Regions from separate parts of the Homo sapiens genome. Here regions 1, 2 and 4 are each linked to region 3. The links are contacts of gene promoters, found by promoter capture Hi-C in human tissues and cell types (Jung and others, 2019). All regions are on one chromosome and are shown on one strand. Each heading gives the region's core, a stretch centred on a gene start or on the middle of the fragment in contact. The rest is flanking DNA. Distances are from core to core; before and after follow the strand shown.

Evidence for each region. Contacts are between HindIII fragments. The study calls those that stand out against the background at their distance.
Region 1: a fragment that was not itself captured here is called in contact with the fragment with the promoter of TMEM244 in region 3 in 2 of the 25 tissues and cell types used here (hippocampus and psoas muscle).
Region 2: a fragment that was not itself captured here is called in contact with the fragment with the promoter of TMEM244 in region 3 in 2 of the 25 tissues and cell types used here (ovary and stomach).
Region 4: a fragment that was not itself captured here is called in contact with the fragment with the promoter of TMEM244 in region 3 in 1 of the 25 tissues and cell types used here (pancreas).

The regions. Positions count from the first base shown.
Region 1 is chr6:129,915,129-129,920,448 of GRCh38, forward strand. The region is part of intron 4 of LOC105377999 (a long non-coding RNA gene); the gene reads left to right. Among named protein-coding and RNA genes, the nearest start is that of TMEM244, 56 kb to the left of the region's middle. The HindIII fragment of the contact is 4,560 bases long and covers 1-3,609 here.
Region 2 is chr6:129,806,043-129,811,967 of GRCh38, forward strand. No RefSeq gene overlaps it. Among named protein-coding and RNA genes, the nearest start is that of TMEM244, 52 kb to the right of the region's middle. The HindIII fragment of the contact is 5,119 bases long and covers 1,595-5,925 here.
Region 3 is chr6:129,859,362-129,865,267 of GRCh38, forward strand. It overlaps TMEM244 (transmembrane protein 244), which reads right to left and starts at 1,954. Exons shown (of 5, transcript NM_001010876.2): 1 at 1,795-1,954. The coding sequence starts at 1,827. It overlaps LOC105377999 (a long non-coding RNA gene), which reads left to right. Exons shown (of 8, transcript XR_942986.3): 2 at 1-64. RefSeq lists a silencer at 4,263-4,557. The HindIII fragment of the contact is 10,214 bases long and covers 1-5,906 here.
Region 4 is chr6:129,896,318-129,902,325 of GRCh38, forward strand. The region is part of intron 4 of LOC105377999 (a long non-coding RNA gene); the gene reads left to right. Among named protein-coding and RNA genes, the nearest start is that of TMEM244, 38 kb to the left of the region's middle. The HindIII fragment of the contact is 5,137 bases long and covers 1-4,058 here.

The DNA of each region.
Region 1 (5,320 bases), core at 80-2,579, 55 kb after region 3:
TTTTTTTTTTTGAGATGGAATCTCGCTCTGTTGTCCAGGCTGGAGCGCAGTGCAAGCGAGCCTCCTGCCTCAGCCTCCCAAGTAGCTGGGATTACAGGTGCCCACCACCATACCTGACTAATTTTTGTATTTTTAGTAGAGACAGGGTTTCACCATGTTAGCCAGGCTGGTCTTGAATTCCTGGCCTCAAGTGATCCACCCACCTCAGCCTCCCAAAGTGCTGGGATTACAGGCTTGAGCCACTGCACCCGGCCAGGAAAGCCTGATTTTTGAGGAGCAAAATGTGCCCATGTAATGACATGTAAAGTGAAGATTTGAAAATGATCCTATCAAGTTAATGAATTATATCTGTTTTATTCAACTGGGCCCTCTATTCTAATCAAATTACTATTTGACTCTGCTGCATACACAAGCTTTTTAAAAAAAAATTTGACAATTCTCTGCACTCAGCTTAATCATGTCACTTTCCTGTGATCTTTTGTGTTATTTATTAAAACAAATGATTATCCATATCAAAGTGTAGTTTTTCCATTTTCCTCTCAGTCATGACATAGATATATTTGGAATAGGGACGTGCTGCTGTCCTATCACTCTTCCTAAAAGGCAGAGTTGGGAAAGTGAGAAAAGCCCACAGTGTTACTTAGGATATTCCTAGATAGCTTATTGCCATAAAGCAGCAAACTACTAGGTGATTATCAAGCGAAATGATGAGTACATTGATTTAATATTTTTCTTAACCTTTTTGTTGCAACAAGAGAGCTCATCGAAGAAGATACTTTAATGTTCCCATTCAAAATGATTAAGCCAGAAAGGATTTAGGGCACTCTAGGCCTGTTATTTAACTAGAACAATGAAAGTAAATATATGTCTTCGAAACATTTATTTAGTTTTTGTTTTAATAAGTAATATTCAAATGATTTATTTAAAACTTTTTAAAAAACTTGAACAAAGTAAACACTGAGAAGGCTCCGTCCTACCTTGCACTATCTATCTCATTCCTACTCCCCCTATGAATAACTGCTTGTATTAATTGTTCATATTGCTTCCTCCACTTCTTGTATAAAATGTAGATTATCATCACTTTACTCCACACCTTGAGTTTTATCTTTAACAATATTTCCCCGAGATTTTTCCTTATCAGGACATCTTATGCTTCCTCATTGTTTTTTCACAGCTACCTAATATTCCATTGTGTGCATGTACCATAATTTAATTAACCACTCTGCTGATAGACACTTGGGTTGTTTCTAATCTTCTGCCTTCACAAACAATGCCATCATGAATAACCTTAGACATAAATCATTTTGATGTGTGCAGATGTGTCAGTAAGATGCATTCCCAGAAGTGAGACTGCTGGGTCAAAGGGTAAATACATTTGTAACTATTAAAAATATTGCCAAAATGTCCTTTATGGGGTTGTGCCATTGGGTTCTGCCACTAGCAATGTATGAGAGTACCTATTACCCCATAGCCTCAGAAACAGAATTTTGTTCAACTTATTCACTGTTGCCAATCTGATAAGTAAAAAACTGGTGTTGGTTAGTGAATCTGGCTTTAATTCACAGAGAGATAACATGCAATTTCGAGTAATGTGAAAGACTTTTTGTGGTTGTGATTTTTGTTTTTCATACGATCTGTGTCTGCCACACACTATCCTGAAGTCCTGTGTCACAAAATCACTGCTATAAGTGGAACTGTGTCAATGAGGGCTTCCAGGACTTATATATCATGCCTTTTGACATAAGGCAATAGGTATGGTGTCAGGAGCCCTTGTATTCAAGCCAAGAGAAAAATGAAGCATCAAGGAGTCAAGTCCTAGACCTTCCTGTAACTGATTATGTCCTTTGAGCCAGTCATTGAATCACTAAAGGTTCAATATCCTTATGCGGTGAAAGTATCGGGAAGCAGAATAATGAAAAATGAGATAAAGTTTTAACGACTCTTGCTGAGGAAGGAGAAGGATGGGAGAAAACACCAATTTAAGGCAGCAAAATTGTGCCTTACTGATACCATCAATTGGAAATATTGGACTTGTGATGATCTGGGTAGAATAAAATAGTTATACTCTGGAGTCTATTTTGTTCCAACATGTTGAGATGTTCATATGGACCCGACATGGTGAAATGTTCAGATGGACCTTTGGGATACTAAATTCTGGTTACAATGGGGCCAAGCCAATACTGAATTTAAAAGGGACTGGTGTTTGTAAATACTTTGACTCAAAATCTATGATTGGATACAGATTAAATTTATTATGTTTTAGAGATCGTGCATATCTTATGACCATAATTTTAATTAAATTTAAATTTCAAGCTAGTCTGCTTAAAATTGTACATTAGATTTCGGGCCATTGATATTTATTAAATAACTATCCCCTGGATGCTAAATATTTAACTAATAATATGTAATAGACACATTTTCGAAACATTTAGCTGAATGTATAGTACAATCCTGTTTCATCTGAAACCTTGTGTGTTTACTGGTAGATATTTGTATAGAATAATATTGGAGAGACTATACATTAAAAGTGGATAGTCTTTCAAACAATTCCATCTAAGTTGTAGAATTTCAAGTAACTTTAATTTTTTGCTTGCTCATATGAATTTCTATAATTTTCCAGAAAGAATATTTATTATCTTTGACAAATAATTTTGTAAAATCACGGAAAAATATTTTGAGGTTAAAGATGGGACTGGAGGGAGACTTTCATTGCCAAAAGTTCAGTTCAAAGAATTCTCGTATCTAGTCAATGCTGTTCAACCAACCAGAAGCATTTTAAAAGAGGTAGGGTAACAATTTGCTAGGTGCTTTTTTCTATATTAGTGATCTCTCTCAACACTCTCTGTAGTGTCATTTCTTCCTTTTTTACATTTTTTATTTGAAGACAAAATAGAAGAAATCATAGAGCTTGAAGGTGAAAAGCCTTTCAAAATATCTATTTGGTATGTAAACATAATTTTTCAACCACTTTGTTTTATGCCTCTCATGATTTCCAACAGATATAATAGGTCTTAGTTCCATTTTCTATTGTATTATAATGGTTATTTTCACAGGACGCTGTTCACAGTATCTTCTTAACTGGTCTCTGGGCAATGCATCTGACAAAAAGCCAGATTAGTATGTTCCTAAAACACCACTTTCATTATGTAACTTTCCTGCTCAAAAATCTCCAATAGTTTCTCTCATTTATTGTCATGATTTTCGAGCTTTTAGACAGTAGAACATTTTCTTGCCCTAAAGAATACTTATGTGGAATCCCTATGAATAAAACAGATGACAGTAGTGTTTTATTAGAACTTATGATAAAGTCCATCAATAAAAATCATGAGGCTATTTTGATACACACAGAAAGACAATCGAGTGTTATGGTTGAAACTGAAAGTCTTCAGCATTCAAATATATTTCCATATTTTATTCTGGTTACATAGAACTGAAAAACATCTCCATTTATAAAAAATAAGCAGATGATGTTAATAAAAGGTTTTTTAATAGCTAAGCTTTAAATCACAATGAATCAAAAATTACATAAAAAGTTTACCCCAATGTTTGCAACAAAAGTTAATGTGTTGGTAGAAGTCACTGTGTTAAAAAGTGATAGATTACACATTTGAGTGTGGGTGCTGATTTGCTTCTCTGTTTGTATCCTTGTTTCTTTTAACTATAGAACTTAATATTCACGAATATATTTTTAAAATATTTAAGATCAGGTTGATTTTAAAAAGCTTTTTAGTTCATGGAAAGATTTTCAGCAAATGAGAGTCAGTTGGTTCTTTGCAGCTTTAAACTAGACGTTCTTTTTTTCTCAATCCTATGTACACTGTCAAACATCTTTTTCTATAAAAAGACCAGTTTTGTCTGCCGAGGTGGAAAACATTCTTCCTTGTTGATCTCTGCAAGTGTAGGGAATTGTTTTTTTGGTATTCACACTCTTCTCACTTTGATATTGTGCGGATCACTGAGGCCTTGAACCTATGGAAATACATCTTTCGCCAAAAGTTCCAAGACCATCCATTTACTGAGGACTTGGCCTTCGAGTCCTCAAACTCTGAAAATTATCTCCTAAATAAACATCAGGATCTAAGCCGTACAAGCCTCTGAGATTGCTCCTTTGGCCTTACATGTGTGTTTTCATTGTGTTATTTTTATATTTTTCCTGATGATTATTGTCCGTTTCATTTTTTCATGATTCACTTTTAGTTTCTCAGAATCTATTCTTCTAATGATTTAACCCATGCACTCAAATAAAAAGCACAGTCTCATACCATTTTCACTTTTTGAATTATCTTTACTTTTTGTCATAATTGTACTCTGCCTTTTATTACTTAACACTTTTAAACATTCTTTTTTTATACTTATCACTCTCGATAGGGTAAGTACTGTTTGAAAACACTTTAAAACTAAGCACACATTCAGCAAACACAGTCACTTCTCAAGTACAGTAGCCAAGAATAAAATGAACAGGCCAGGTGTGGTGGCTAGTGCCTGTAATCTAGCGCTTTGGGAGGACGAGGAGGGAGGATCACTCCAGGCCAGGAGTTCAAGACCAGCCTGGGCAACACAGGGAGACCGTGGCAAAAAATATTTAAAAACTAGCCAGGCATGGTGGCATGTGCCTGAAGTCCCAGCTACTTGGGAGGGTGAGGTGGAAAGACACTTAAGCCCCAGTATTTCAAGGCTGCAGTGAGCTATGATCATGCCACTGCACTCCAGCCTGGGTGTCAGTGCCAGACCCTGTCTCTAAATAAATAAATAAATAAATAAATAAATAAATAAATAAATGGCACAATTGTGGATACCATCTGTGGGTGGCAGGCAGAAGTGACTCTCTACTGCCCCAGAGGCTAGCTCTGTTGTTAGTCTATGGCAGTGTGTAAGTTGCAGGTTTGTAAGCTGATTTTTCTAAGGAGTTTCTATAGTTAAGTGTACTTTTAAAAGACAATTTAAATTTTTTAAGAAAAGCAATTAAAATCAAGCATTAGCAGAACATAACTACGTGTTTAACAAGGGTTACCAAATTTATCTTATAAAGGACCAGATAGTAAATATTTTATTCTGTACAAGTCACACAGTCTCCAGTGAGATTGCTTAACTCTGTGACTGTAACACAAATACAGCCATAGACAATATGTAAGCAAATAGGCATGACTATGTTCCAACAAAACTTTATTTACAAAAACAGGGAGTGGGCTAGATTTGGCCCACAGGCTATAGTCTGCTGACCCCGGGATAGAGTATAAACAATTCTTGTTTGTCTTACCCAGTGTACATAAATAAATAAATAATCATTATGGTAGATTAAATATAGCTGCAAATTCTTTCC
Region 2 (5,925 bases), core at 2,904-5,403, 51 kb before region 3:
AAGGGAGGAACCTGGTGGGAGGTGACTGAATTATGAGTATGGGTCTTTCATGAGCTGTTCTTGTGATAGTGAATGAGTCTCACAAGATCTGATGGTGTTAAAAATGACAGTTTCCCTGCACAATCTCTCTCTTTGCCTGCTGCCATTCATGTAAGATGTGACTTGCTCCTCATTGCATTCCACCATAGTTGTGAGGCCTCCCCAGCCATGTGGAACTGTAAGTCCATTAAACCTCTTTCTATTACAGATTGTGCAGTATCAGGTATGTCTTTATCAGTAGTATGAAAACAGACTAATACAGTAGGATAGATATTATCCCCATCTTAAGGTCAGAGAGGGCAATGACTTCACAAGTAAGTAACAGATCCTAGCACAGACACAGAGAGTAGGTGCTTGATAAATATTTGGAGCATTTTCTACTGATACAAAACCACAATTGATTTTGTTTCATTTACCCTTCCTTCTGTTCCTGTCTTATTTTTGTGTATTATGCAATTAAACATTTATTACCAATGGTTAGTGTTGTTTTGCATGATCACATACTGGCCATTCATTACTTCATTTATGTATCTTTTATCTTCACAACTAAACTATAGGTAAAATTGTGATACACTTTGATAGATAAAGTAGACATTTGTTGCTCGAACTCCTCGTTGACAGAGACCTAATTTTTATTCTTGCATTCTGCTTCTTCAAAGAGCTCATGGGTTTCAAGGGAAGCTGACACTGTCTTCCACCCTTCCACTCTCTAGTCACAGGTGAGCTCAGATTGTCTCAACACTAACCAACACATTCCACTGCTCTGGTATGGTGATGGGCAGAGGATCCAGTGTGAGCCAGTAACAACAGAACTTTTTGGGAAAGACACATCCTTGCCCTTTTTTCATTGGCTCTAACAAGAAACATGAGGAACCAGACAGAAAATACATGAGGTGAAACCTGCCCCAAATGGAGCTCCTACAGGGGAGCAGATAGAAAAATAGACATAAACCAAATCTTTTTAAAAATTTTTATTATACTTTAAGTTCAGGGTACATGTGCACAACATGCAGGTTTGTTACATAGGTATACATAGGCCATGTTGGCTTGCTGCACCCATCAACTCATCGTTTACATTAGGTATTTCTCCTAATGCTATCCCTCCCCCAGGCCCCCACTCCCAGACATGCCCTGGTGTGTGTGTGATGTTCCCCACCCTGTGTCCATGTGTTCTCATTGTTCAATTCCCACCTGTGAGTGAGAACATGCAGTGTTTGGTTTTCTGTCCTTGTAATAGTATGCTGAGAATGATGGTTCCCAGTGTCATCCATGTCCCTGCAAAGGACAGGAACTCATCCTTTTTTATGGCTGCATAGTATTCCATGGTGTATATGTGCCACATTTTCTTAATCCAGTCTATCATTGATGGACATTTGGATTGGTTCCAAGTCTTTGCTATTGTGAATAGTGCCACAATAAACATACGTGTGTGTGTGTCTTTATAGTAGCATGATTTATAATCTTTTGGGTATATACCCAGTAATGGGATTGCTGGGTTAAATGGTATTTTTAGCTCTAGATCCTTGAGGAATTTCCACATTATCTTCTACAATGGTTGAACTAGTTTACACTCCCACCAACAGTGTAAAAGTGTTCCTATTTTTCCACATCCTCTCCAGCATCTGTTGTTTCCTGACTTTTTAATGATTGCCATTCTAACTAGCGTGAGATGGTATCTCATTGTGGTTTTGGTTTGCATTTCTTTAATGACCAGTGATGATGAGCATTTTTTCATGTGTCTGTTGGCTGCATAAATGTCTTCTTTTGAGAAATGTCTGTTCATATCCTTTGCCAACTTTTTGATGGAGTTTTTCTTTTTTCTTGTAAATTTGTTTAAGTTCTTTGTAGATTCTGGATATTAGCCTTGTAAGATGGATAGATTGCAAAAATTCTCTCCCATTCTGTAGGTTGCCTGTTCACTCTGATGGTGCTGTGCAGAAGCTCTTTAGTTTAATTAGATCCCTTTTGTCTATTTTGGCTTTTGTTACCATTGCTTTTGGGGTTTTAGTCATGAAGTCTTTGCCCATGCCTATGTCCTGAATGGTATTGCCTAGGTTTTCTTCTAGGGTTTTTATGGTGTTAGGTCTTACATTTAAGTCTTTAATCCATCTTGAGTTAATTTTTGTATAAGGTGTAAGGAAGCGATCCAGTTTTAGCTTTCTGCATATGGCTAGCCAGTTTTCCTAGCACTATTTATTAAATAGGGAATCCTTTCCCCATTTCTTGTTTTTGTCAGGTTTGTCAAAGATCACATGGTTGTAGATGTGTGGTGTTGTTCCTGAAGCCTCTGTTCTGTTCCATTGGTCTATATCTCTGTTTTGGTACCAGTACCATGCTGTTTTGGTTACTGTAGCCTTGTAGTATAGTTTGAAGTCAGGTAGCATGATGCCTCCAGCTTTGTTCTTTTTGCTTAGGATTGTCTTGGCTATGTGGGCTCTTTTTTGGTTCCATATGAACTTTAGAGTAGTTTTTTCCAATTCTGTGAAGAAAGTCATTGGTAGCTTGATGGGGATGGCATTGAATCTATAAATTACTTTGGGCAGTATGGCCATTTTCATGATATTGATTCTTCCTATCCATGAGCATGGAATGTTCTTCCATTTGTTTGTGTCTTCTTTTATTTCATTGAGCGGTGGTCTGTAGTTCTCCTTGAAGAGGTCCTTCACATTCCTTGTAAGTTGGATTCCTAGGTATTTTATTCTCTTTGAAGCAATTGTGAATGGGAGTTCACTCATGATTTGGCTCTCTGTTTCTCTGTTATTGGTGTATAGGAATGCTTGTGATTTTTCCATGTTGATTTTATATGCTGAGACTTTGCTGAAATTGCTTATCAGGTAGGCTGAGACGATAGGGTTTTCTAAATATACAATCATGTCATCTGCAAACAGGTACAATTTGACTTCCTCTTTTCCTAACTAAATACTCTTTATTTCTTTCTCCTGACTGATTGCCCTGGCCAGAACTTCCAACACTATGTTGAATAGGAGTGGTGAGAGAGAGCATCCTTGTCTTGTGCCGGTTTTCAAAGGTACTGCTTTCAGTTTTTGCCCATTCAGTAAGATATTGGCTGTGGGTTTGTCATAAATAGCTCTTATTATTTTGAGACATGCTCCATCAATACCTAGTTTATTGAGAGTTTTTAGCATGAAGGGCTGTTGAATTTTGTTGAAGGCCTTTTCTGCATCTATTGAGATAATCATGTGGTTTTTTTCGTTGGTTCTGTTTATGTGTTGGATTATGTTTATTGATTTGAGTACGTTGAACCAGGCTTGCATCCCAGGGATGAAGCCAACTTGATTGTGGTGGATAAGCTTTTTGACGTGCTGCTGTATTCGGTTTATCAGTATTTTATTGAGGATTTTCGCATTGATGTTCATCAGTGATATTGGTCTAAAATTCTCTTTTTTTGTTGTGTCTCTGCCAAGCTTTGGTATCAGGATGATGCTGGCTTCATAGAATGAGTTAGGAAGAGTTCCCTCTTTTTCTATTGATTGGAATAGTTTCAGAGGGAATGGTACCAGCTCCTCTTTGTACCTCTGGTAGAATTCGACTGTGAATCCATCTGGTCCTGGACTTTTTTTTGGGTGGTAGGCTATTAATTATTGCCTCAATTTCAGAACCTGTTATTGGTCTATTCAGAGATTCAACTTCTTCCTGGTTTAGTCTTGGGAGGCTGTATGTGTCCAGGAATTTATCCATTTCTTCGAGATTTTCTAGTTTATTTGCCTAGAGGTGTTCATAGTATTCTCTGATGGTAGTTTGTATTTCTGTGGGATCGGTGGTGATATTCCCTTTATCATTTTTTATTGCATGTATTTGATTCTTCTCTCTTTTCTTCTTTATTAGTCTTGCTAGCGGTCTGTCTATTTTGTTGATCTTCTCAAAAAACCAGCTCCTGGATTCACTGATTTTTTTAAAGGGTTTTTCGTGTCTCTATCTCCGTCAGTTCTGCTCTGATCTTAGTTATTTCTTGCCTCCTGCTAGCTTTTGAATGTATTTGCTCTTGCTTCTCTAGTTCTTTTAATTGTGATGTTAGGGTGTCAATTTTAGATCTTTCCTGCTTTCTCTTGTGGGCATTTGGTGCTATAAATTTCCCTCTACACACTGCTTTAAATGTGTCGCAGAGATTCTGATACATTGTGTCTTTGTTCTCATTAGTTTCAAAGAACATCTTTATTTCTGCCTTCATTTCGTTATGTACCCAGTAGTCATTCAGGAGCAGGTTGTTCAGTTTCCATGTAGTTGTGAGGTTTTGAGTGAGTTTCTTAATCCTGAGTTCTAATTTGATTGCACTGTGGTCTGAGAGACAGTTTGTTGTGATTTCTATTCTTTTACATTTGCTGAGGAGTGTTTTACTACCAATTATGTGGTCAATTTTAGAATAAGTATAATGTGATGCTGAGAAGAATGTATATTCTGTTGATTTGGGGTGTAGAATTCTGTAGATGTCTATTAGGTCTGCCTGGTGCAGAGCTGAGTTCAAATCCTGGATATCCTTGTTAACCTTCTGTCTCATTGATCTAATATTGACAGTGGGGTGTTAAATTCTCCTGTTATTATTGTGTGGGAGAGTAAGTCTCTTTGTACGTCTCTAAGAACTTGCTTTATGAATCTGGGTTCTCCTGTATTGGGCACATATATATTTAGGATAGTTAGCTCTTCTTGTTGAATTGATCCCTTTACCATTCATTACGTAATGTCCTTCTTTGTCTCTTTTGATCTTTGTTGGTTTAAAGTCTGTTTTATCAGAGACTAGGATTGCAACCCCTGCTTTTTTTTTGCTTTCTATTTGCTTGGTAGATCTTCCTCCATCCCTTTATTTTGAGCCTATGTGCGTCTCTACACATGAGATTGGTCTCCTGAATACAGCACACTGATGGGTCTTGCCTTTCTCCAATTTGCCACTCTGTGTCTTTTAATTGGGGTATTTAGCCCATTTACATTTAAGGTTAATATTATTATGTGTGAATTTGATCATGTCAGTATGATACTAGCTGGTTATTTTGCCCGTTAATTGATGCAGTTTCTTCATAGCATCAATGGTCTTTACAATTTGGCATGTTTTTGCAGGGGCTGGTACCAGTTTTTCCTTTCCATGTTTGGTGCCTCCTTCAGCAGCTCTTGTAAGGCAGGCCTCATGGTGACAAAATCTCTCAGCATTTTCTTGTCGGTAAAAGATATTATTTCTCTTTCACTTATGAAGCTTAGTTTGGGCTGGATATGAAATTGTGGGTTGAAAATTCTTTTCTGTAAGAATGTTGAATACTGGCCCCCACTCTCTTCTGGCTTGTAGGGTTTCTGCCAAGAGATCCACTGTTAACCTGATGGATTAACCTGACCTTTCTCTCTGGCTGCCCTTAACATTTTTTCCTTCATTTCAACCTTGGTGAATCTGACAATTATGTGTCTTGGGGTTGCTCTTCTCAAGGAGTATCTTTGTGGTGTTCTCTGTATTTCCTGAATTTGCACGTTGGCCTGCCTTGCTAGGTTGGGGAAGTTCTCCTGGATAATATCCTGAAGATTGTTTTCTAACTTGGTTCCATTCTCCCCATCACTTTCAGGTACACCCATCAAACGTAGATTTGGTCTTTTCACATCGTTGCATATTTCTTGGAGGCTTTGTTCATTTCTTTTTACTCTTTTTTCTCTAATCTTGTCTTCTCACTTTAGACATAAACCAAATCTTCAGCCACCATTTTAAGCTGCACCTAAAGCCAGCAGACTTACTTTTCAAGCACAGAAGCCAATAAATAGCTTTATTCTCAAAATCAGTTTCTGCCATTTTCAACCAAAGGCTTTAAAACTAACACAATAAAATAGACATGCTGTATATATCTGATATATCTCATTAATAGTAAGGAAGCAGGCAAATAATCATGTACTGAG
Region 3 (5,906 bases), core at 704-3,203:
CTGGAGAAATCATGAGATATGACTCTCTCACTTGTAGAATCACAGCAAAGGCTCCGTCCTACTGGTAAGTAGTTCCCTCTGAAATTGCCTGAATGAATGAAATTCTCCAGTTCAGGTGAACAACTCTGAGGATATGCAGGAATGTGTTGTGCTTCTGAGATTTTTACAACATTTGTTTTACAGAGGAAAGTTTACATTAGTTTAACATAGTTAGGAAACATGCCGTCTACTGGAGTAGAATACATTGTATTCTGAACAGTTTAGCAGTCCTCATACTTGGGCTTTCTTCCCAGTTCTTGTGCTATTTTCCCAGACAGCAAATTAATTAAATGGCCTTTGGCCATGACTCTTTCCCTTGAGTCAGCTTTTCTGTCATTTAAAGTGTACAGATAGGGGGGATTTAATTAGCCCAATGCCTGGCACATTGCATGCACTCAATAAATGTTTGTTGAGTATTCGAGTTATCTCTAGATGAAGGTCACTTTTGCTATTACTATTAATTTATAAGCATATCAGTAATTCTTGTGCTGATAATATTGACAGTGAACAAGCACTTAAAAGAAAAGTTAACTCATAACTTATAGGGATGTATCATGAGAATTCAGATAGTCAACAACCTATCTATTTTGAACATATTCACTATTCTTCTAATGTTCTAAGGCTCTAATTCTACACTTGAAGCTCAGATGATTCTAAGATAGTGAGGAACTGCAGCAACTATCTGGATATTTTCTCTGCAATGCGTGTGTGTGTGTGTGTGTGTGTGTGTGTGTGTGTGTGTGTGTGTCTGTCTGTCTGGTCTGTGTAAGCCCCGACTAAATATAGAGCCCCCATTCTTTGTGTAAGCTACTTAAGAGAAAGGATTTTATCTTCTAATTTTTATCTCTTCAGCAGAAGTTATTATTGCTAGTTCAATCCCAAATCTATACATAAATTACGAAGTTTAATAACCCCTTAAAAATAAGCTTTTTAAAAATATTTTTCCTGAAATAATGTTTTACTGACCTTGAAAATTTTTCTTAGCTGTTGTCATGCTCAACATTTCTCACTGATGACATATGTGGTGATGATGGTAGTGTAAAGAAAAAGCTTGAGGAAATACACACGGTGCTGATATTTTACTAAAATGAATGTAGCACTCACTCATAATTGTAATTTAATTTTTAAGTAAAAATCTGATTTTCCACTATCATTCCCTTAAGTCTGGCTCATTATAGGCCTAAAGCCTGTATGAATTTACACAGCTGCTTTGAGGCTTTGCATATTTCCTTGTTTTCGATTGTTTGATTTTTTTTTAAAGGGGTATTTTTGCACTGAAGTAAAACACAACTATTAACACTAGCCTCGGGGGAAAAAGAAACTAACAAACCTACAGCTTGAAATGTTTCAACACTTTGCATTTAAAATTTTGCGCACCCTTTAGAAGTTACAAAAATAAAAGCCACTCCCTGCAAAAAAAAAAAAGAAAAAAAGATTGAGAACAAACTGTCATGATTTCAGAAAACGATAGCAGACGTGCAGGTGCTAATACCAGAGAGCTTACCTCCGAATAAAATGGTGCCTTCTAAACAGCGACTATTTACATGTTTTAGAATCCTTTCTTGGGCATGGGTGCCTTTATATTGCCCTATTACCACAAGATGCAAGCCGTGCAGCAGAATGTTTTCTGTATGGTACCCAGCCAAAAGTGAAACAAGTTGCCCACTGACAGAGAGGCCATTTATAGAACATATTCATTTACACCAGTGCTAGGCAGCAACTGAAAGGCAATGCAAAGAAGTAATTTCTCTTTACCTTGCTTGGAGCAACTCTGACCTGGAGAGCCATGTACACATCCTACGTCAAGGAGGTGATGAAAGCCCCACTCCTTATAGCGATGACATCTGGAAGAAGACACAATTGTCACCGTGAGCTTTTCAATTACTCCTGGAGACTAAGTGTGAGACGCAGTAGTGCAGGATGATTGGATTACGCAAAACGAGACAGATGCCATCTGTGAGCCACGCGTAAGCTGCTAAGTGCCAAAATGAACATCCTTATTAAACGATGGAGTTCTCATACCATTTGTAGTTTGGTCAGATTTGAAAGATGAGTTGATTGTTTTTAGATAGTGCGGCAAATAGGCAGGGACTTGGAATCCTCTCTGGCTGTATGAGTAATTACTGTCTCATACTTAAATTAGAAACATGGGTTTTCAGTTAGGTCTTGAGATTGTTTCCAAAGGATGCTGCTGCATTCATGTTGAAGCGTGGCCTGTCCTCTCTGTTTCACTCACAAGGGCCACAGAGTTCTGAGAAAGAAATCATCAGTTCCTTTCACATCATGGCAAAGAAATGTAAAACTTATGACTTTTTGTTAGGAAACAAAAGGGTTCCCATACTCTAAAATAATGGCCACAATATTGTGGGTAGAATGTTTTCAAGAACTGCCAGGAGGCAGTATTGGAGCTCTGTCTCTCTGCGTCCTGAGGCTCCAGAACCAATCCTTCATTTACAATTCATTCTCCCATCTTTTTACTGGCACCAACTCTATTATTATTTTTATTTTAATTTTTAATTGCTGTGATTACATAGTAATATAGTAATATACCCCATAGAGTTTATGGGGTACATGATATATTTTGATATAGGCATCTAATATGTAATGATCACATCAAGGTAAGTGGGATTTCCATCACCTCAAGCATTTATTCTTTGTGTTACAAGCAATCCAATTATACCCTTTTAGTTATTTTTAAATGTACAATTAAATTATTATTGACTATAGTCACTCTGTTGTGCTATCAAATACTAGATCTTATACATTCTCTCTCTTTTTTGTATGCATTAACCATCCCCACACTCCCCCTTTTCTCCCACTACCCTTCCCAGCTTCTGGTAACCATTCTTTTACTTTCCATCTCAATGAGTTCAATTGTTTCCATTTTTAGTTCCCACAAATAAGTAGGAACATATGAAGTTTGTCTTTCTGTGCCTGGTTTATTTCACTTAACATAAGGACCTCCAGTTCCATCCATATTGTTGCAAATGACAGGATTTCATTCTTTCCTTTGGCTGAATTCTATTCTGTACCTGTACCACATTTCTTTATCCACTTGTCTGTTGATGGACATTTAGGTTGTTTCTTAATCTTGGATATTGTGAAACATGCTGCAATATACATGGGCATGCAGATACCTCTCCGATAGACTGATTTCCATTCTTTGGGGTATATGCTCAGCAGTGGGATTGCTGGATCATATGGCAGTCCTATTTTTCTCTTTTGAGGAACCTCCAAACTGTTCTCCATAGTGGCTGTACTAATTTACATTCCCACCAGCAGTGTATGAGGGTGTCCTTTTCTTCACATCCTCACCAGCATTTGTTATTGCCTGTTTTGGGATAAAAGCCATTTTAACTGGGGTGAAGTCATATCTCTTTGTAGTTTTGATTTGCCTTTCTCTGATGATCGATGATGTTGAGCACTTCTCACATACCAGTTTGCCATTTGTATGTCTTGTTCTGAGAAATGTCTATTCAGATATTTTGATCATTTTTAAATCATATTATTAGATTTTTTCCTCTACAGTTGTTTGAGCTCCTTATATATTCTGGTTGTTAGCCCCTTGTCAGATGGGTAGTGTTTGAGTATTTTTTTTCCCATTCTGCGGGTTGGTGTCTTCACTTTGTTGATTGATTGCTTTGCTGTGGCACCAACTTTAGATGGGAACTTAGCTGTGCCCTGTAATCCTTTTTCCATTACAGCATCTTGTTAACCGCTATAAAGAGCACATTCTGCAATATCTACCTGCATACCAAAAGCAAAGGTGAAAAGAGTGCCTTCAGCAAGTCCAGGCCTTGATAGTTTTCATCTGAATATGTTATTGAATTTGACATTCATAATGCATATTAATAACACTGTCAATGCTCTTTTATTAATATACCTTAGATAAATCTTTTAATGTGTGGTTGCCCTGTTCTCTGCTTATATTGTGAGTTCTTGCAGAAAAAGACTTTTCTGCCTGCTGGTAACATTGTAACAGCTCCCAGTGTTGTCTTCAGATTTCAGCACACGGTGGACCCTCAGTAAATGCTGATTGTCCAAATCCCATGCCCTGCCCTATTTGTAACAGTGATGACCCAGAATTTCTCCTTAAAGAGGGCAGGCGGAGGCCAGGTGTGGTGGCTCATGCCTGTAATCCTCGCACTTTGGGAGTCAGAGGCAGACGGATCACAAGGTCAGGATTTCGAGACCAGCCTGGCCAACATAGTGAAACCCCGTCTTTACTAAAAATACAAAAAATTAGCTGGGCATGGTGGCGGGCACCTGTAATCCCAGCTACTCAGGAGGCTTAGGCAGGAGAATCGTTTAAACCAGAAGGCAGAGGTTGCAGCGAGCCGAGATCGCGCCATTGCACTCCAGCCCTGGCAACAATGAGGGAATCCGTCTCAAAAAAAAAGGGGGGCAAGTGGAACTTCCTGGGAGTCATAGCACAGCATAAAGCAGAGGATTTGTGCCTGACTCACTCTACTCCCAACACAGGCTGCTTTGTGCACAACTCAGATGCCTTCTGAGTTACTCAGGTAAACAATAACCACCCAAAAACTATCCTCTCAGGAAGTTGGCACCATACATTGGGAACTAATACTCCAGCACTCTATTGGATAAAATACTGAAAAGTACTAATTTTCTATAATTACATTGGAAAAAAATTTGATGACCAATAGTCTAATGAGTAGAGATTATGTGTGTATGGGTATTTACATCTATAATAAGCATCTTTTTTTTTTTTCATCAGAGACACCGCACTGGATTTAAGCATTATTTTTTGAACTGCTACTGTGATCTATTGCGAGAATAAGGCATGAGGCATACACATACACATTTAGCAACTACAATTCTGATTTCCAAGTCTGTCATTAGGCTGATGAAATATTTACATGTGTACATTTTATATGTATATGTGTGTGTATATATATATATTGTGTGTACATGTATTCATTCAGCACATACTTATGATAAAGAATAAAATACATAAAACTCTTCACATTCTTTAGTTCTGAATTGTTCTCCTTGATATTTCATCATGTTTTAAATTATTTTCAGTCCCTTTGTGTAATTTGTATCTAGAGTTCTCCTTTGTTTGTTAAAATTGGACTCAGCTACTTCCTTCATGATAGAGGCACAAAAACTTCAAGGTCCTAAAGAAATATTTCCAAGATTGTAGCACATAATTTAGAATTTCTCCTTGATAAAATCAAAGGAGAAAATGAGCTCAGATCCACAATTACTAATTGCAAATCGTTAGGGCCAGATAGGCTTCTAATTTCAGAAAATTTTGAATTTTATTTAAATAATAGGATCCATATAGTATATTATATCCCATGTCCAAGTAGTCTAGAACTTCCCTCTGTATCCAAACATTGTTTGAGCAGCAAAATGTATAAATATTTGCCATGAGTGGGATGAATAAAAACTAAATAATTTTGTCAATTTGGTTTCATCACCAAATTCATTAACGTCTGGTACTATTCTGTCACCCAAGGATAATAAATAATAAAATAGTTTCCACAGATTTTTAGATTTTTGGATTCACAAAAGGAGTAGTGGACAAACACAGATTTAATTATAAGAATCTACAGATTGGCATTGATAATAGAACTCTTGCTAAATTAAATTAAATTTGGCCTAAAGCAGCCTCTGCACATTAAAAAACTGCAGCCTAACTTAAGAGCATATTCTTATAACAAGTTGCTGAGCCTCGGCCAATCACAGCAGCTGAGCTTTGGCCAATCACAGACTGCCAACCAATTAGAGCGTGTCTATATCAGGCAAATACTAAGCTGTAGCCAATCAAGCTGTTTCTGTATGTCATTTCCTTTTCCTATCTAATACTGCCTCCCCGTGTTGGGTGGAACTCTCTGAAC
Region 4 (6,008 bases), core at 240-2,739, 36 kb after region 3:
CCCAAGTTAAACACTATTTACATACATTAAACTACCCACATACAGTTTTTAATGTGACAAGTAAGCTTGCTTCTTACTTGTTAACATATCTAATCTACTTTAATTTCTTTTTTTTTCCCTTTCTTTCTTTTTTTTTTTTTTTTTTTGAGACTGGGTCTCACTCTGTCTCCCAGACTGGAGTGCAATGATGCGATCATGGCTCACAGAAGCTTTGACCTCCTGGGCTCAGTGATCCTCCCACCTCAGACCCCAAGTAGTTGGGACTACAGACATGTACCACCACACCCCACTAATATTTTATTTTTTGTAGAGATGAGGGTCTTGGGGGTCTCACTATGTTGCCCAGGTTGGTCTCAAACTCCTGGGCTGAAGCTATTCTCTGGCCTCTTATGGCTGGGACCACAGGCGTGTGCCACCATGTCTGGCTTTTTTTTTTTTTTTTTCGGAGAGACAGAGATCTCACTTTGTTGCCTCGGCTGGTCTTGAACTCCTGGCCTCAGATGATGCGCCATCCTCGACTTCACAAAGTGCTGGAATTGCAGGCGTGAGCCACGATGCCAGACCTACTTTAATTTTAACAACTGATAGTAGAGAAACAAGTCTCACAAAGCTATGTTAATGGGAATGAAACAAAAGATTTTAAGGCAGTTTCAGCAATCTCAGGATATTCATTTTAAATTTTTATCCAAAATGAAACAAATGATGCTGTATATTCAGAATTTCTATTTTTATCAGAAGCCAAATTCAATAATTTACTCTGTAAAGTTACAGTTAAGTTCAAATTATTTCTTAATGAAGGAAATAAATTCTAGATTGAGCACTTTTGGGTTATCATTGGCAAACTAACTTTGAGACATTGTGTTGTAAAGGTTCTGCTGCAGACAATTAGTAGGCATCTTTGAGTCCATGTAGCGTGAGTACATGTAGAACTCATCATGTGATTTCAAGAACACCTAAACTGTTCTATATCTGCTGAGTAAGATGAGTTAACTGCTCCTCGTTGAATGTGTCAACAAGCAAGTGGTAGAAACAGATTTGTTTGCTGGTCTCCTCCGTTGTGTAAGGTTTTTCCTCTGTTGGAGGTTGTTACCCTGTAAGCAGATCACCTGAGATATGAATTATATTTGTTCTACTACCTATACTGTTTAGCAGGACCAGTGGCTAACCATACCCTGAAGCCAGCCTTAGAGAGGATAATTGTCTTAATAAAAACATACAGTTGACCCCTGAACAACTTGGGGGCAAGGAGCACTAATGCCCTGCAGTTGAAAACCCTCAGATAACATTTGACTCCCCCCAAAATTTAACTACGAATAGGCTATTCTTGACCAGAAGCCTTGGCAAAAACATAGTCTATTAACAGATATTTTGCATATCATATGTGTTATATGCAGTATTCTTAAAGCAAAGCGAGCTAGAGAAAAGGTTATTAGTTATTAAGAAAATCATAAGGAAGAGGAAATACATTTACTATTCATTAATTGGAAGTGGATCATCATAAAAGTCTTCATCTTTGTTATCTTCATGTTGAATAGGCTGAGAAGGAGAAGGAAAAGGAGGGGTTGGTCTTGCTCTCTCAGGACTGGCAGAGGCAGAAGAGGTGGAGGAGGTGAAAGGGGAGGCAGGAGAGGCAGGCGCACTTTATGTAACTTTTATTGAAAAAAATTCGCATATAAGTGGACCTGCATAGTAGTTTAAACCTGTGTTGTTCAAGGGTCACGTGCACACACACACACACACACACACACACACACACACAGTTATATATGCATACACATACATATGTTTATATATCACATATACATATATGTTGTGTATACTTATTGGTTAAAGTGTGTATTGTACCAAATATTGCTGTCTGCATTTCAAACTCAAATAATGACTTTTAGACCTCACTTCTTTGAATTGTAAGTACAGTTGCCATGCTGTATTGTAGGCACTTTGATGACAGAAATAAAATTTGAAATGTTTCTGGAAATCTGTATTCATCTATAATTGATTGACTGGTCAATTGGCTGGCTCGTTAGTTGCCTTGGTTACAGCATTCAAATATTTATTGGCTACCTGGTCTAAATAAGATCAAATTACAATTTAATTTCCAGTATGAGAAAAGAAAAGATGGTTTTTCCATAAAAAATTAGACAACCATGCAATTCTAGGGATCAGCCCGTAAGCACAGGCAGAGGAATTTGGATAGAACCAAAAGATATAAACCTTAGTTCCTTACTCACAGTAAGAAATAGGGCATTGTTTTCAGTGCCTCAGTTCTGGCCAGACATGGTGGGTGGCTCATGCCTATAATCCCAGCACTTTGGGAGGCCAAGGCTGGAGGATCACTTGAGCCTGGGAGTTCGAGATCAGCCTGGGCAACAAAGGGAGATGCGCCCACCCCATCTATACAAAATACTTTCTTAAAAACTAGCTGGATGTGTTGGTGTGCACCTGTGGAGCCAGCTACTCAGGAGGATAAGAGAGGATTGCTTCGGTCCGAGAGGTTGAGGCTGCAGTGAGCTCTGTTCACACCACTGCATTCTAGCCTGGGTGACAGACTAAGACTTGTCTAAAAGTAAAATAAAATAAGATAAATAATAAAAATAAAAATGGAGAATATGTCATATCCATATGTTTAAAACACCAGCATTTAAAAATAAAGCAATAACTTCAGTTTTTAAATTATATCCAGTCAAACATTTTGTTACCATAACAGTTTTATCTGTCTATAGAAATGCAAATATATAAACAAGCTTTTCCTTGACTCTTTCTACACATACTTCTAATCCATGCCTTCACGAGAATTTTACCTATATATTTATGATACATTTTTATGCTTAAAAGTCTTTTATTAGCCTATAACACTTTCAGTATAGTATTTGAAATTTAAAAATTTTGTGAACATGAGGCTCTAAGCATTAAAAAAATTCAGTCTGGATTGAGTTATCGTTTTTATTAGTGCACAACTGATCCAAACATTTATTAAAACTTTGATAAATATGTGTTGAATAAAATTTATTGGCAATGCATCTTTTAATGAAATAAATGGGGCTGTATCTATGTATGATCATTACTCATTACTAAAATTAAAAATGGCACTTCTGTTTTTCGTTTTTACAAATGTAGGCCCTGAGAAACACAGTTAACCTAAATAAGTAGACGGAACTGGATGGAGTTTGTTGTGGCTCTGTTATTCAATTCTTTGAACTCCTTTTGAGACATATAACAAAAATTCCATAGTGATTTATCATCGAAAATTAGTTTTTAATAATCTATTTGTTAAGAACTCTATTAGATCCTCACTGGATTTTGATGAAAATAATTGAAAAGGGAAACTCTCAACAAAAAAAATTTGCTAACCAATCATTTGCGTTATTCACTTTGTCAATACTGATACCAATACTTGGAACTGCTCCTTGCCCCACCGCCCTTTTATTGGTGCCTCAGAAGTTTTTTCAAACATTAAGAATATGATAAAGTAAAATTCAATTCAGGAAAGGTGAGTTGTTCACTTTTATAAAGTTTGAGAAGAGGGATTATAAATGGAAATGTGGAAATTAGGAAAGCACAGAAGACAATTTTAGTAGTTTTCGAGAGTATACATATGAAAGTTGAAGATCTGGAAGTTGATTTCCTTAAAATCATGGTCCTGTGTAGGCCTTGGAAAGGTTCCTGGTGCTCCCAGGTGTACATAAACCCCAATTTGAAGGTACTGCTCTATTGTCAGGAGAGTAATTCTTTTCTGGAGTGAAGGGGGTTTTGCTTTACAAGTTTATCACAATCTACTTCCCAGTCAATAGACCTAATAATATTATCTTACAAGTTACTCTTTTAAGACAGGTGGACAACTCTTCGTTTGTTATTGTGTGTGAAAAGAAAGCTCTTGGCTAAATTAAGTTATATAAATGATTATGTTGTTGCCAAAAGACAGAACCATCTTTAGTTCTAAAATTACCTTTCCTGGTACCCAGTTTAATCAGAGAAAATTCTTTTCTAGACTCTAGGGATTTTGAACTGTACAGGACCTGGTGAAAAGGTACTGAGAAGGAATTTTATGAAATCTCAGGCTTGGCAAAGTTTCCCTCTTCTGGGCAACCATAATTCTCTCTGCAGACTTTTATCTAACAAGAATACATTAAAATTATTTTCTTATTATCTGTCTTCTTCACCACACTATGAAGTCTTTCAGGTGAAAGGATCATGTCATACTCATTTTTGAACCCCCACTCCCCAAAACTCCTACACAATACTTGATATATAGAGGTGCTCAATAAATACGTACAGAAATGAACTCTACAGAATGAAGTGAAAAAATTCTATTTGCATGGTGTGATGTGAAAGATTAGGGAGAAAACTCTTTTGCCCTGAAATATTAACTTTCAAAGTCATCCTTAATTTATTTGATAGAGTCATTTGCATCTCTTAGAATCCTAATATTAAAAAATGAAATATCACTAAGATTTAGCTGGGAAAATAATAATAGAGAGGAGAGAAATTGTTCCCTACAGTGGGAACAATCTCTGCAACAACACTGCAGACATTGCAGGAACATGGCAAGGAGCGGAGCTTCAAGGGAGAGAATGATCTAGGAGAAGGTGAATGAAAAGTTTTATCCAGGCATGATCACCAGGGTCAGGTGTATGACTTAGGATTTGATCAGAAGCATAATAAGTAGCCATAGAGAGTATTAAGCAAAATATTGCCATGATTTTATTTGGTTATTACAAGAAACTCTGGCAGAGACTTCTTTCTCTAATAAAGTTAGCCTGAGTTAATTACACCACTCCTTATACTAAAAGCAATAAAAATTCTATAAAAATAATTTTTAAAATATATTTAAAGCATCAAAAAATCAAAAGTGAATAAGGAACTTCCAGGCCAAAACCAAATAGAAAATAGGAACCCCAAGAGATCCAAGAAACCAAATGAATTCTAAGCAGGGTAAATCAAAAGAAGTCCACAGTTAGATATATCAGAGTGAAGCTATGGAACACGAAAAACAAAGAATTTGCAATCAGCAAAATAAAAGATAACGTTTTCATTTCCTAGAGCTGCCATAACAAATGGCCACAAACTGGGTGCCCCAAAACAACAGAAACTTATTCTCTTACAGTTATGGAGGATGGAAGTCTAAGATCGAAAAAGAAAATTTGAGAGAGATAGGTTGTAGATACCTCCTTCCAATCTCTGCCTTTGACTTCACGTGGTGTTCTGCTGGGTATGATCCATCCTGGGACAAAATTCCTCTCCATCTGTCCATCTGTAAACTAGAAAACAAATTATCTGCTTTCCAAATTCAATGATGAGACAGGCATAGGATAAACATTGCCATCCCAAAAGACAGAAAGTGAAAAAAAATGGGGTCACTGGTTCGGAGCAAGCTTCCAGCAGGGAAAACTCCATTTGTCTTCAAAGCCTGAGTGAACCTGTGTGGATCAATCCACTCTCTGGGCCTGCAGAGGCCTCAGGGCCCACTTCTTTAGTCTCTGTCTCTGCATCCACAGCTCTGCTTTTGGAGTCATTCTTTTTTCTTAAAGGGTAGCAGATGTTTGTAGTTCAGCAGTTCTATCAGTCTATTTTTTTGTGTGTAGAATCTCAGAAATCCAACAGCTTTCCTTCATTTTATTGAGTCTGTCTTTCTCAGTCTAAGCTGGCATTGTTTTTGCTGCTATACCATTTTCAAAAACCTTATTGGTCACTTATATATCTCAAGGAGGTCCACACCTCCTTGAGACATGAGTATTCTCCACAGATTCTGCCTGAATAACCTCATCTCTATTTCTGGTTTCTGCTGAGATGGTTGGCTGGATCTATGAGTCATAAACCTAATCTCTCCAGCAAAAGGTTGCCAGCCACACCTTTGGTGTTCTGTTTAGCACATGCTTCAGCATTTTTTGAAATATGGATAGGCAGAGAATATTCCAAATCACAGTGTTCTGGTTCCTTTTTGTTTAACAGTTCTTTCTTCAATTTACCTCTTTCATGTCACATTTTACAGTAAGCAACAATAAAAACTC